Regions from separate parts of the Homo sapiens genome. Here region 2 is linked to region 1. Evidence: promoter capture Hi-C in 16 types of primary human blood cells and fetal thymus (Javierre and others, 2016). All regions are on one chromosome and are shown on one strand. Each heading gives the region's core, a stretch centred on a gene start or on the middle of the fragment in contact. The rest is flanking DNA. Distances are from core to core; before and after follow the strand shown. Region 1 holds the start of FLJ13224 (a long non-coding RNA gene). Region 2 holds the start of REDIC1 (regulator of DNA class I crossover intermediates 1).

Evidence for each region. Contacts are between HindIII fragments. The CHiCAGO score rates a contact against its expected background, and 5 or more counts as called.
Region 2: the fragment with the promoter of REDIC1 here is called in contact with the fragment with the promoter of FLJ13224 in region 1 in 3 of 17 cell types (naive CD4 T cells, naive CD8 T cells and non-activated CD4 T cells); the score reaches 6.1 in naive CD4 T cells.

The regions. Positions count from the first base shown.
Region 1 is chr12:31,318,837-31,325,695 of GRCh38, forward strand. FLJ13224 (a long non-coding RNA gene) reads left to right here and starts at 5,480. Exons shown (of 1, transcript NR_026806.1): 1 at 5,480-6,859. The region is part of intron 1 of SINHCAF (SIN3-HDAC complex associated factor); the gene reads right to left. RefSeq lists an enhancer at 6,403-6,859. The HindIII fragment of the contact is 3,270 bases long and covers 4,598-6,859 here.
Region 2 is chr12:39,623,271-39,629,414 of GRCh38, forward strand. REDIC1 (regulator of DNA class I crossover intermediates 1) reads left to right here and starts at 2,913. Exons shown (of 13, transcript NM_001031748.4): 1 at 2,913-3,089. The coding sequence starts at 3,067. The HindIII fragment of the contact is 5,259 bases long and covers 1-4,675 here.

The DNA.
Region 1 (6,859 bases), core at 4,230-6,729:
CTGTCTTTACAACTAAATAGGAAGTCACTCCTAATTTTATTTGCCCTTCTGTAACATTGGGAAATTCTGTTTATTTCCTTGAATTTATAAGAGTTGCACATTACAGAAAAATAAATGCTATCTATCCCAAGATATATACAACAAATTTAACTGAAGGTAAAATTCTGATTACTAAAGATTTTCTTTTAAGCCCAGGTCTGTGGGAAAAGAGGAACTTAGCCTTTTCAGGGAGACTTTAAGGTCATGAAAAGCCCCATATACTCCTCTATGAAGCTGTTCTCCCATTTTCAAACTTGAGAAAAATGTTAAGAAAATGGATACATGATAGTATACACACCTGATTTGACCCAAACCTCAGGAAAGTTCCTTAACCTCACTAATCCTGTTTCCTCATCTATAAAATAATGACAGGCCGGGCACAGTGGCTCACGCCTGTAATCCCAGCACTATGGGAGGCAGAGGCAGGTGGATCACCTGGTCAGGAGTTCGAGACCAGTCTGGCTAACATGGTGAAACACCGTTTCTACTAAAAATACAAAAAATTAGCCCAGCCTGGTGGCGTGCGCCTGTAATCCCAGCTACTCAGGAGGCTGAGGCAGGAGAATTGCCTGAACCCAGAGGCAGAGGTTGCAGTGAGCCAAGATCGCACCACTGAACTCCAGTTTAGGCAACAAGAGCAAAGCTCAGTCTCAAAATAATAATGACAAATCCAAATCTCCTGAATAGTATCTGTAAAGCATCAACACAACATCAACACAAAGATCGGCACAAGGTATGCACTCAGCTCTGACAATTCTTTTTACTCACCAATCTTTCTTCTTTCTCTCTTTTTTTCCTCTTACATTTCAGGTATCATTTTGCTTTCTGTCTTTGGGCAATCCACTCGCAGGAAGTTACTAACCAACCTTATTGGTAATACCTATTATTCATTCCCTGGTCCAATCTCTCCCCTTAGCTCTAGGATAAATATGGCCAACTGACCACCAATCCATTCCAATCTTTAAATACCCTGAGAATTGATTATATAATCTTCCCTCCAAATCTGCTCTTCCTCTATTTACCTATCTTGGTTGTCATCCACAGTCACACAAAAACAACTTGGAAGCCAACTGAGCTCTTCCTTCACCCTCTGCATGGCCCTCCATCAAATTTATTGTGAAGTCCTTAGAAATTCTGTTTCTTCCTTCACTTCCATCCCCACTGCCTGTTTGTTCCTCATCATGGTGCATGAACTCCTGTCAGAACCTTGTAACTGACTTCCCTACATCCTTTAAACATGTGATATCTTCCTAAAGTTCAACTACTAATCTTCCCTTCCAAGGTACCAACACTGGCTTCATGATAGTATCTAAACTCCTTGGCAAGGAATTCAAAGCTTTTCAGGATCTGCTCCTGCCTACCAGCTGCTCCCAACTTGGAATTCTGATATTCTAGGAGTGTCAAACAAACTTTAATAACTAGCCACCCTCTACTCAGGCTGTTATTTCTGCCTGAGACGGCTTACCCTCTATCCCCTTGACCTGGGAAATTCTCTTAAGAATTACTTATTTTACAAAACCCTTCCATACCTTTATTAGAACACCTACCACATAAGATTTCACTTCTTGTTTACTGCATTATCTCCTCTACTCAATAGTAAACCGCTGTAGAGCAGAAACTAAGTCTTGTATTACAACCAGGTGCTGGCTGTACATAGTACACAGAAACGGGTAGAATTTGCTAACTACTCAAAGAGTGGGGCAGCCAAGATTAATATAAACAGTATATTTAAGGGCATGGAATGGGAAATGGTGTCTACAATAAAGACGTGAATTTTAAAAACTAATGTTTTGAAAGGAGTCATTGTTTGCACTATTGATCATAGAAATATTTTTAATGTTTTTAAAAAGGAGTCTTTTTTTAACATTTGGTCTATAGACTTTTGCAGGAAAAAAAACCTGAGGTTTTAAAAGCTATAGGAAAAAATGTTTCTTGCTTATTTCAAGCAGGAGCAGGGGGAAGGAAATTAGACTAGTGTGGGGAGAAATGAGAAATGAGAGCTACTTCAACTCAGCACAGTTAACATTTACCAAATTAAAATAACAGTAAGCCAAACCAAACTTATAATAGGTGGAAAACAACTAAATACAAAGCTAGAAATAAATTCTTTTAGTTCAACTGTAACTTTCATACTTGAATATGTAACAGCGGTGTACCTGTGACATTAGTATTTCTGAGGCAAAGAGAAAACCTCCCTACCTTGAAAACAAACTCCCTTTTTGGACTAGATGACATTTCCAGATTATTTCCATAATACAGAAAAATCCTAGTTGCAGATTCAATAAAAAACTGGAGAAACAAAAGACAACAAAAAAGTCTCAATTTATAACACCCCAAAATCAAAACTTAAGTGTGGGAAATACAAGACAATCTTGTGGACAAGAGAAATCAGGAAGAAAGAAAAATGACATTTTCCAGGTTTCCGCAGGACTTTCTGATGTAAAATGGTTGAATCAGAATTGAAAAGACAACCAAGAGTCAAGGGCAGTGTCTTCCCAGAACTGCTTTCTTAAGGTAAGGGAGGGGACCAAAGACACTCATTCTTTCCACTAAAAATTTACTTAATGTTTCCCCAGAAACGATAACTGACACAGGCCTCAGTTTTATCTTCTGTAAAATGTCTACTTCCCAGTGTTGTGAGGACAACACAGCTAATATTTATCAATCATGTCACTGGCTTAATTACAACTTATTTAAAATAGGTATTACTACCATTTTACAGATGAAAAAAACTGGATCACAAAGTGACTATAAGATGATGACAGCTTTGAAACCCAAGCATTACTAACCCAGAAACCTCTGAACAGCAAAACTTCGTGCCTCAATACATGTGTTCCTTTTCTGCTCAACCAATTATATTCCTACCATCTCTTAAGAAAAAACGAAAATGACATACTTTTAAAGCAACCTACTATGTGCCTGGCATGGTAAATTGATTAATTTATCCTCATAAGAGCCCTGTATAGTTGGTTTAGATTTAAAAGTTTATGCTTTCCCCAGTGAAAAACTTTTATTTTACATGTAAAATGGTTCTTAAATTGCTTCTCTGACATAAATATGTCTGAGTTTGAGCCCTATGAGTCAGGATTTCCCAGGACTTGATAACCACTCTGGGGGAAAAAAAAAAAAATTGACCATTCAGGTTCCAGATATACAGAATTAAGAATACTGTGCAAGGACAGACAGACTTGGGGCCTGCTGTCCACCAGTGATCTAGAATATTCTACCAATTGAACTTCGTATCTCCAACCTCCCACAAAAGCAATACAAAGAGAAGGCAGTAGAGACCTTGTCTGTGGGTCTTTCCCACCCTGAATTCATTCACATTGATAATCCAAATCTCTGTTTTACATCATCTAATTAGTAAAACAAAAACCATTAAGCTCTGTATGTAGTATATGAAATCTGCTAGGAAATGGAAATTCTAGCCATAACTTAGCTATGAAATACTAATTAAGAAAAACAACTCAAACAATCTCAGCGTATTTGCAAAGCACCTCATATGCATTTTAAATACAGGACCCAGAGAAATAGCTGCGAAAGGAAAGCCAAAGTTATTAAATCCAAAGTTTTTCATTTTCTTGACATGCTCTTTCTATTTAATACAGAAATGTACTAATATAGGTTGCCTTTTGGTATTGTAATTTGGTCAACCAAAACTTGGGAAAAATAGGTCCAAAGTTTTTCATTTTCCTGACATGCTCTTTCTATTTACTACAGAAATGTACTAATATAGGTTGCCTTTTGGTATTGTAATTTGGTCAACCAAAACTTGGGAAAAATAGGTTTATTAATAACAAAATAATGAAAAAAAATGGATTTCAACTAGTATCGATTTTTAGGTGTGTGGGGGCAGGGGCATTCAAGGGTATTATTTCCTAGTAATGATCACTTAGATTCTAGGCCTTACACATGATTCAAATGCAGGAGAAATCAGGAAAGAAGCAACAGATATGGTGGTGGGTATCGGATGTCTAGACTACAGGCAAACCCCAAATACCAAAGAAGCATCCATGTGTCAAACCAGCATAATTTTTGAGCTATGCCTGGGGCCACATACAAAAAAAGAAAAGGTTAGCTTGAAAAGAAAAATCTAGGAGAGGTAACCAGAAGGTCAACCACAGTTCACGGGATCTGGGAAGAAGCTAGCCGTTACCCTGTGTCATCTTCCTGAGCAGCTTCCTCCCCAGCCAGCTCCCCAGCCTCCTTACAATGTTTCCAAAAGGCCCAACTCCCTAAACATTTGCTTCTTCAAGGTCATCCTAAGGCACTGAATAACCACCAAACACTGAGTCACGCATACCTTTCGCCTAAAAAAGATCCCCCTTCCCAAAATCATTATATAAATACTTTAAATGCCATGAGGGTTTTCTCCGAAACTCCACCAGAAACAAACTCCCAGACTTTTAGATTGGGCAACTAAATGTGTTCAATTTTGCGACATAAAATTTTAAAAGGCTTTTCAAGTCTGGCAAATTCCAGTTCAAAAACAGGTGCTTTCAGCGTACTCTGAATAACAAGGTCAAATTCATTTTTAAATTATTAAAAGAAAAAGAAAAGCTTTTCTTAACCCTCCTTAGGACAACTTAAGAAGGGGGAGAAAGAATTGCTGGGGTAAAACTGTCTCGGATAGGGTCCCTGTTTAACTCAAGAGTAAATCCTAATCTTCCGAGTGCCTGAAGTAATGGAAGGTTACAGGAAGAAAATAAAAACAAAGAAACTGACTAGGGTCATAGTTACCAGAACAAACTGCACCGCCCTACCACCTCAAGAAACCAACTCCCCCTACACCAAAACAAACCTTGCCCTTCCCCGCTCCCCCCACCCCCTAGAAACACACAAAGAAACTGGCCGCACGCACAATTCGCCCACAGTCCTCACTTCCCTTAGTAGGGCAACAGGGAGCCCCGGAACTTCCCCACGGTGGTTTATCGGGCGTCGTCGGGGCTGGGTCCCCTGGACTTGCGGGCCACAGCTCGGCTGGGGAGGAGGTGCTCGCCGCCCTCACCCGTTTCTCTGAAAGCAGTAAAATGCCTCCCCGCTCCTCCCAGGGCCCTCGGGTCCCCACCTTCCGTAAATCGTGCTTCCCCCTCGGGCACTCCGGTGACTGCCGAGAGAGACGCCGAGCCAGCAAGTAAGAATGCTCCCTGGTGGATTTGTTGGTAAATAAGACATCTCGCGTCGGGAGGAAAGTTCCTGCGGGGGCCGCTCGCCGGGGCGAGGGCGAGGGCAGCGGGAGGTGAACCGCGTCGCTCGCCGCCACCTCCCTCACCTGCGCCGGAACAACGGGCCCCGCGCCAGCCCGGCCCGGCGCCTCCCGCAGGCCGCGCCTCCCGCACGCCGCGCTGCCGGGGCTTGTTCCTCCTCATGGCTTTGCCCTGACGTAATTCAAACATGGCAACAGTTCGACTTCAAAGGCGAACCCACAGACCTCCCAGACACAGGCTCCCGGGCCACGAGAAACCGGCCGAGCAGTCCGGGCCAAGCTCCCCGGAACCCTCGGCCGTCGCAACCCCCGACGCCAGGGCTGAAGCGCCGGGCACTGCCGCCTCCCTCGGTCGCCCGCCCGCACGCCCGGAGCGGGGAAGCACGCCGCCTCCCTACGCACCAGCATGGCACCTCGCACAAGTAGCGCCGCCAAAGTTTCCCCACGAGGGGGCTGAGGGACAAAAGCCCCTCCCGAAACTCGCCCGAACTTCGAGGGCCTCCGACCTGCACGGCCCTACGCCCAGGCGGCGGCCCCGAGCGCCGGGGGCCCGCACGGGCACATGCAGCCCTTTGTTTTCTGTCCAGCCGGGCGCTGCCTACGTGCAGCATCAGGGATGTCGGAGCGTTTCGCAGGGGCCGGACACTGGACGATCACCCTGGGTAGGGGTCCGGACCCCGCGCCCCGAAGAGTCCGGAGCCTGGCCCCCCGACCCTCCCCTCGGGAGCAGGCCCATTTAATCAAAGTTTTGCAGTGTCCTTGATGAGAAACGCCCGGAGTATCCGCCCCGCACGGGCGGAGAGTTGGCGACTTTCACTCTGCTTTTTAAACTGGCAAGACGCCATCATCAGCAAACCACATTGTCCTGCCGGCCGGACCTGCCCGACGGCGGCCGCATCCCACGGCTCACGCGGGGCTGGACATTCGGACAAGGACCAGGGTCGCAGCCCGAAGCACGTGGTCTGTCACGTAGAGCACAAAAAGCAGTGCCCTGCGGAGTTCACTGACTCCCGCGGCGTACACAACGCCGCCGCCTCCATCTCCAGCCAAGTTGGCTTCCCTGGCCATCTTACAGCGCGGACGGCCGCCCATAAACGGGAAGCCCTCGCGGTGTCGCCCACACCTACGCTACAGGTGAACGCACCGGGAGCAAAACTTCGGGCTCCGAAAGCACCCCGGACACCAGAGGCTCTTGGGCGCGGTCCGAAGAGGGCAGGCGAGTGGAAGACGGGCTGTTTTTAAGCGACCGCGTGTTGCTCTCATTGTCGCATCCGCATCCCTCCGGAGTTGAGCAAACAACGCCACGCCGCGTGCGCTCCGGCAGAGCCCAGCACTGACCCCCAAAGGCCGATTTAAAGACCCTCGGCCGCCAGCTCGGAAGCGGATGGCAACTTAGTTTCCGAGCGAATGGCGTTTATTGTCCACCCTAGTCCGAGGGCTGCAGTCAACTAAACCACGAGGTTTCACAACGGCGCCCGACCCTGCCCGCGCCTCGCGCCCACGCGGACGCACCGACCCCGGCCGCTGCGCGGTGGCCAACGAGTCGCTTTCCTCTCGGGCCTTTCGGCCGCCGGGCTCCTTTCCGCGAGAGAACACTGCGGCGGAGAAAAGTCA
Region 2 (6,144 bases), core at 1,663-4,162, 8.3 Mb after region 1:
ATTTTTAGTAGAGATGAGGTTTTGCTACGTTGGTCAGGCTGGTCTCGAACTCCTGACCTCAGGTGATCCACCCCCGTCGGCCTCCCAAAGTGCTGGGATCACAGGCGTGAGCCACCGCGCCCGGCCTTCTTTCAGTTTTTTTCTATTGACAGTATGCAATTAAAGCTAAGAGACTGTTAATTTAGTTTGAATTCCAAACTAGGAAAGAGGAGAAAAAAATCTTTGTTACTGTAGTAAAAAACATACTTAGGCCTAATTTCCACACAAACGTCTCAACTTCAAGTGTGTTTATATGGGAGATTATTAAAATTTTCTTAAGAGGGGAGAAATCTTCTTAGAAAAGATCTTGAGAAACAATGAGAATAATTTTTAAAATCAATAATTCTCAAATCACTGTGCTCTCAAGTGTGATATTCTCATGTACCCTACCAATATCCATGAAAGAAATGAATTAAATGGAGTTTATATATATAGAATACAAATTAGAGACTATATATGTTTTATGAACTGTAAAACATCAGAAATTTTTTTGTAATAAAGAGAATTATATATATGTATATACATAAATGTATGTATAATGTATATTGTATATGTGTTGCATGTTCAGATTATGAATATCCAGAAAGTAAATAATTTTTAGAAATAGGTAAAGATAAATTGTTTAAGGTTTGAGAATTTCGAATGGATTTCCTTTTCAACAAATGCTTAATAGTATTTCATCTGTGCTGTATTGCTTTCTTGAACTGTTTCCTGACCCAAGAGATTACCTAATTGCTCTACTGGCCCTAAAATAGCACAGCATTGGACTCTCTTATTATCTATCAGTCATGCTAGTCTTACTCATGGAGGCATAAACAGCACTGAAAATGAGATTTTAGGTCAACATTTCAGCTATTACACATAACTACCTAATACCTAGTTCATAAGGAAATGTCTTTTTCTGTGAAGGAAAACCCAGTAAATATCTTGTCTGAACATGTATCTCATAGGTTAATCTTTCCTTAGCCTAATTCACTGCCTCCCTGTGACTGGAAGGAAAGAAGTGACTCTAGTAAGGGGGAAGAGATGGCCCATCCAGCTCTCAGTTCTTATTAAAATTTTTATGTATTTTTCTTTTTAATTTTAATGGGTATATAGTAGGTGAATATGTTTATGGGGTACATGAAATATTTTGATACAGGCATAAGATGTATAATAATCTTTCAAGGTAAATGAAGTATCCATCACTTCAGGCATTTATTATTTCTTTGTGTTATAAACATTCCAATTATTCTCTTTTGGTTAGTTTAAAATGTATAATAAATGTTAACTGTAATCATCCTGTTGTGCTATCAAAACTAGATGTTATTCATTCTATCTAAATATATTTTTCTACCCATTAACCATTCCCACTTCCCCATCCCCCACTGCCAGCCTCTGGTAACCATCACTCTAGTCTCTATCTCCGTTAGTTCAATTGTTTTAATTTTTGGCTCCCACAAATGGAGTGCCAGCTCTTAGTTCTTTACCCAACAACTTGGTCAACCTCTCCTTATGTCCCTTTACTCACAATAAAGAAAAAAAGAGTTAATCCCTTAGCAAATTATTTCCCCTTTCAGTTAATTTAGTCAATATGTTTTAAAATGTTGAAAGTAGGAAAGGCTGATACACAGGGCCATTGCTTCTTCCTTGCCTGTATGGTTTTGTTACTGAAAAAACAACTCCATGTCAAAGTCTGATATTCTCGGAAATGCTGAATTCACTTGGTCTAATTCAATTTTAGATACACCTTGGTGAATTTTGTCATAAAAAACAGGATTTTTGTGATTAAACAAGATATCTACCCTGGGACATAATCCTATTCTAAGTACTATTTTCCAATGACTTAACAAAAAATCGATTATTATATATCAAATTGTGAAATCTTCCCCAGGTTATGTTCTGGAAAAAAACATGGCAATTTAAAAAAATGTAATTTGTGCATGTATTTGGAAGAAGAGATGCCTAGTTTCTAACCAAAATAATATAGGACAGTTTGTAAGATAATTGTTTTGTAAGGATATACAAACTTAATACAGAAACAAATAGCATAATTCAATTTTTGTTTTGAGATTTTTTTTTCAGTAAGGATTTTAACATCTTTGGACTTTTACATCTAATTAAGTTTTGATCAAGCTCTTTTTTTTCCTTTCTTTCTTTTTTTTTTTTTTTTTAAGAGACAGAGTCTGCTCTGTCGCCCAGGCTGGAGTCTCTCGACTCACTGCAACCTCTGCCCTCCTGGGTTGAAGCAATTCTCCTGCCTCAGCCTCCTGAATAACTGGGGCTACAGGCGCGTCCCACCACGTCCCACTAATTTTTTGTATTTTTAGTAGAAACGGAGTTTCACCGTGTTAGCCAGGATGGTCTTGATCTGCTGACCTCGTGATCTGCCCACCTTGGCCTCCCAAAGTGCTGGGATTATAGGCGTGAGCCACTGCGCCCGGCCTGATTTAAGCTCTCTTAGCAACTCAATGCACAGAATGGTAACTTACTACAGCGCTATGTTTCTTATAAACACCTGTTTACGGAGTATTAAAACTGCACATGAAGGATATTTAAGGAATTTGGGTATGGGGTAATAAATGGGAAGGGAAACATCATTTTTAGGGTTAGCGATCCTTAACTGTGTCCTTGCCTTCTTTTTCTTTCTCAAGTCTGGTCTCTGACTCGAAAAAGACGTCAAAGACCTGTCAGAACTAGATAAAATTATGATGGAGGTGTTTTGAAACACTAATCCTGTGGCCCCTGTCAAAAATTTAGGCTTTCATTTATTTAGGCCTGCCTTGCCTCAGCGATTAAAACGATGTCAGCCAGGTCGGCTGCTTTGCCGCAGCGTCCCCTTGCGGCCCTATCAGGACCGGAAGGAACACGCAGAAGCCGCAGAGGCTGTTGGGAGGTTGGGCCTCAGGCGGTGGACCAGAAGGAGCTTACTCGGGCCCTGACGTTGTCAGGAGGCCCTGGGGGATCCTGCTGAAGCTGCGATTTGGCGCAGAGCTGAGATGTCTGAGCTCTAGACACAGGGACCTCAGTGTCAAAAGATTTGGGAAGATGAATTGGGTCGGGGGGTCCCGGTAAGTTGTGCAGCTGGAGTTTGAGGCTGGGACATTCATTCCTACGACTCCTCTTTCTAGTTCCTGGCGGAGAGGTCACAGCCTTAGCTGGAAAGAACTTGGTAGGAAAGGGTCTTTTTATTGTTATCCAAATCGGGTTGGAGACTCTAGAACCATATCTCTACTCCTCAGACAAAAGTAACTCAGCTTCTCCCCACTCACTGCCTTTACAAAGGCTTCACCTGTGGGGGCCACTGTGAGTAACCTTCCCTGCTGCCCCTCCTCCCCTTCTCCATGTCCTATGCTCTGTTACTGTAATGAGGCCTTTTAGCACCTGAGCCCTCCCCTACTGCCTTCTTTCCGTGTCTACACCTCTTTTAGGTTCTTCTGAGTTGATATATAGTCTTTGCATGAATTTGGAAATTGTGAAACAGCCCAGTCCCAGCTGCACTTAAATCAATGGCAGGGCACCAGTATCACCATAAATCCAAATTGTAGTTTGTATTTTAAGGGGAAGTAAAGTGAACCGTTTTTACTTGAATAACTTGAGCGAATTTGCCATTTATTTTGTATTTAGGATTGATCACATAAAGCGTGATAGATTGAAAATTTAGTGTTATATAACCTATTCATTGTTATTGACCTTAAAGTCCAGCTGGGTGGAAATCATGTGGGCCTGTAATTTCATTTGATCAAAATTCTTGATGAGAAGAATTGTTTTGATTGAAACAAGAAGCCATTACATGTAATTTTTTTGTCACAAGTAGACCCAGGACAGTAATTATATGTTAGATTATAATGCGTTTGAATTCTAAAGAATTTATCGGAGGAAAGACAGCTTTTGTATTCACTAAGTATTGTAGCTATGCCTGATAATTTTAGCATGCACTTTTATCCTGTTGAATATGCTAGCATTGTATTTTAGAAATTTACCTGAATTACTTCTGGCTAGTGTTCTGGCAGCAGACGTACTCTGGAGAAAAGTGAAAATTTACTTACAGGCTTCAACAGGATTTAGTTGATACATGCTTATAATGTGATCTTTTTGAATTTAGTATTCTTTAAAATATTAAATAGGATTATATGAAATAATTTTACAAATGCTTAGCACTATTAAAATGTAGATGTTGCTATTATTCTGTCATATATCACAAACTTTTATGGCTATTTTGGGAGTAATATTTTAGTTGCTACTGGGAGGATGCAAAAACAATATACTGCAGGAAACATGTAACCTAGGATTGTGTTTCTGAAAATGAGGTGTACTGCAGCACCTGGAGGTGCAGCATCTGGAGATATTAGGTACCAGGGGGTTTAAGAAACATGGTTACATCTCCCCGAAGGATCAGTTTTAATCAGAGATTAGGAGAAAATATGTGTTTAAATTTATACAAACGTCGAAGTCAAAATAAAATGTAGAGACAAATCTCTAAATTTAACGTTTTATTTGGAAATGGCAGAATTGCAATTCAGGGCATACACAAAGTATGTCTTTGGTATGTCTGAAGAACAAAGAAAAGGGTGGGGATTTTACAAAAAAAGAGAAATGTTACATATGGTTTTGAAAGAAAGTTCATTGACAGTAGTGAAGTTGTGAGAAGCTGGCAAGCTTTGACTGGTGGGTGATGGTGGTAGTTAAAATGACCTCCTGGAAGGTCATTTTAGTAGTTATTTGGTATAACTGGTCCTAGGCAGTTTCAGAAGCTTGGCTTGCAGAGAATCATGTTTTTGGAGCAATGCTATGTGCCCTGTGTGCTTTTGCCTCCTGACATCTCAACTCTGATGTGGTTGGACATCACAAGAATGACTCAATTTGTGTGATCAACTTTCACACAAACATGGTTGCATTGTAGAGTGAAATGAAAAACTCTTGTGAAATGTTCAGATACACTGCAATTTTAAATAAATTTTATGTGGCGGGATAGGCTTCTTAGGGTAAAGCCCCAGATTGGTAATAAAAAAAAATGGGTGTCTCCATTTTCTATTTTCAGAACAGGCAAGGGTACACAAGATTAGTTGATCTTGGCACTCATAGTGTCCTAAAGGGCCTCAGTCTGAACTAGTGCTTTTAGTAACTAGTGGCAGCTGATGGAGCTAATAGAATAGAAATTTTAATCTTTATCCCAAACCATGCTGGAGTTCTTTTTACCCCCCTCCATTGTTAGGGATGTTTTTGGCTGAACATTTTAAGAAGAACTGTTAGGAACTTAAAATATAGACAAGTGAAGTGATTGGAGAACAATTCCTTCAGAACAATTCCAGAGCCTTCAACAGAAAGTAATTCAGCAAATATATTTTTTACCTGACTACCTGTTTAGGGAATTGGTAAGCTGTACAGGGGGATTCAGAAAAGAAAAATACATCTAGTCCACAAAAAGAACCTAGGAGAGAAAGTAGAGATTAAAATTAGGCAAATCACTATAATAATAGATATTTAAATAGGACTTAATATTGTCACAAGCACTGTTCTAAGTGCTTATTCATTTGCTCTTGAAAATGCTATGATTTATATACAAATATTATTCCCATTTTACTGATGGGGAAACTGAAGCATAGTTCATTAATGTTAAGTGACTTGACTAGAGGCACCCAGCTAGTAAATGGCAGAGTTAGGATTTGAGTTGAGTGTGCTTGCCCTCCATCCTATGCTGTATAGAAAGATGAGTGCCACAAATAAAGTAAATAAAAGTACCACAAAAAAGGGCTGTGGAAATTCAGAGAAATGAGAAACAGGAAGTTACACTAAGCCTTGAAGGACAGAAATAGTGCACAGAGCAAGCACCAAAGGGAAACAATCGAACACTGGTTCTTAAAAGTTAAAATGGAGGTGAAATAAATAATTGATCAAATTGGAGATCTAGGTTTCAGCAAGGCTTCTTAGGAAAGAGAAAGATGAGTTGGAAGGGAAGGTATTAAGGAACTTGAAAAATGTTAGTTTGCGATACTAGGTGAGTCTGCATTAAGACACTTAAACAGTTAATAAAGGGCTCTCTATATACTTTTTCTCAAGTGAATGAATGAAGCAAATTTATGTTTTAGTAATAGCAACCAGATTGCATACACTAATTTGAAGTAG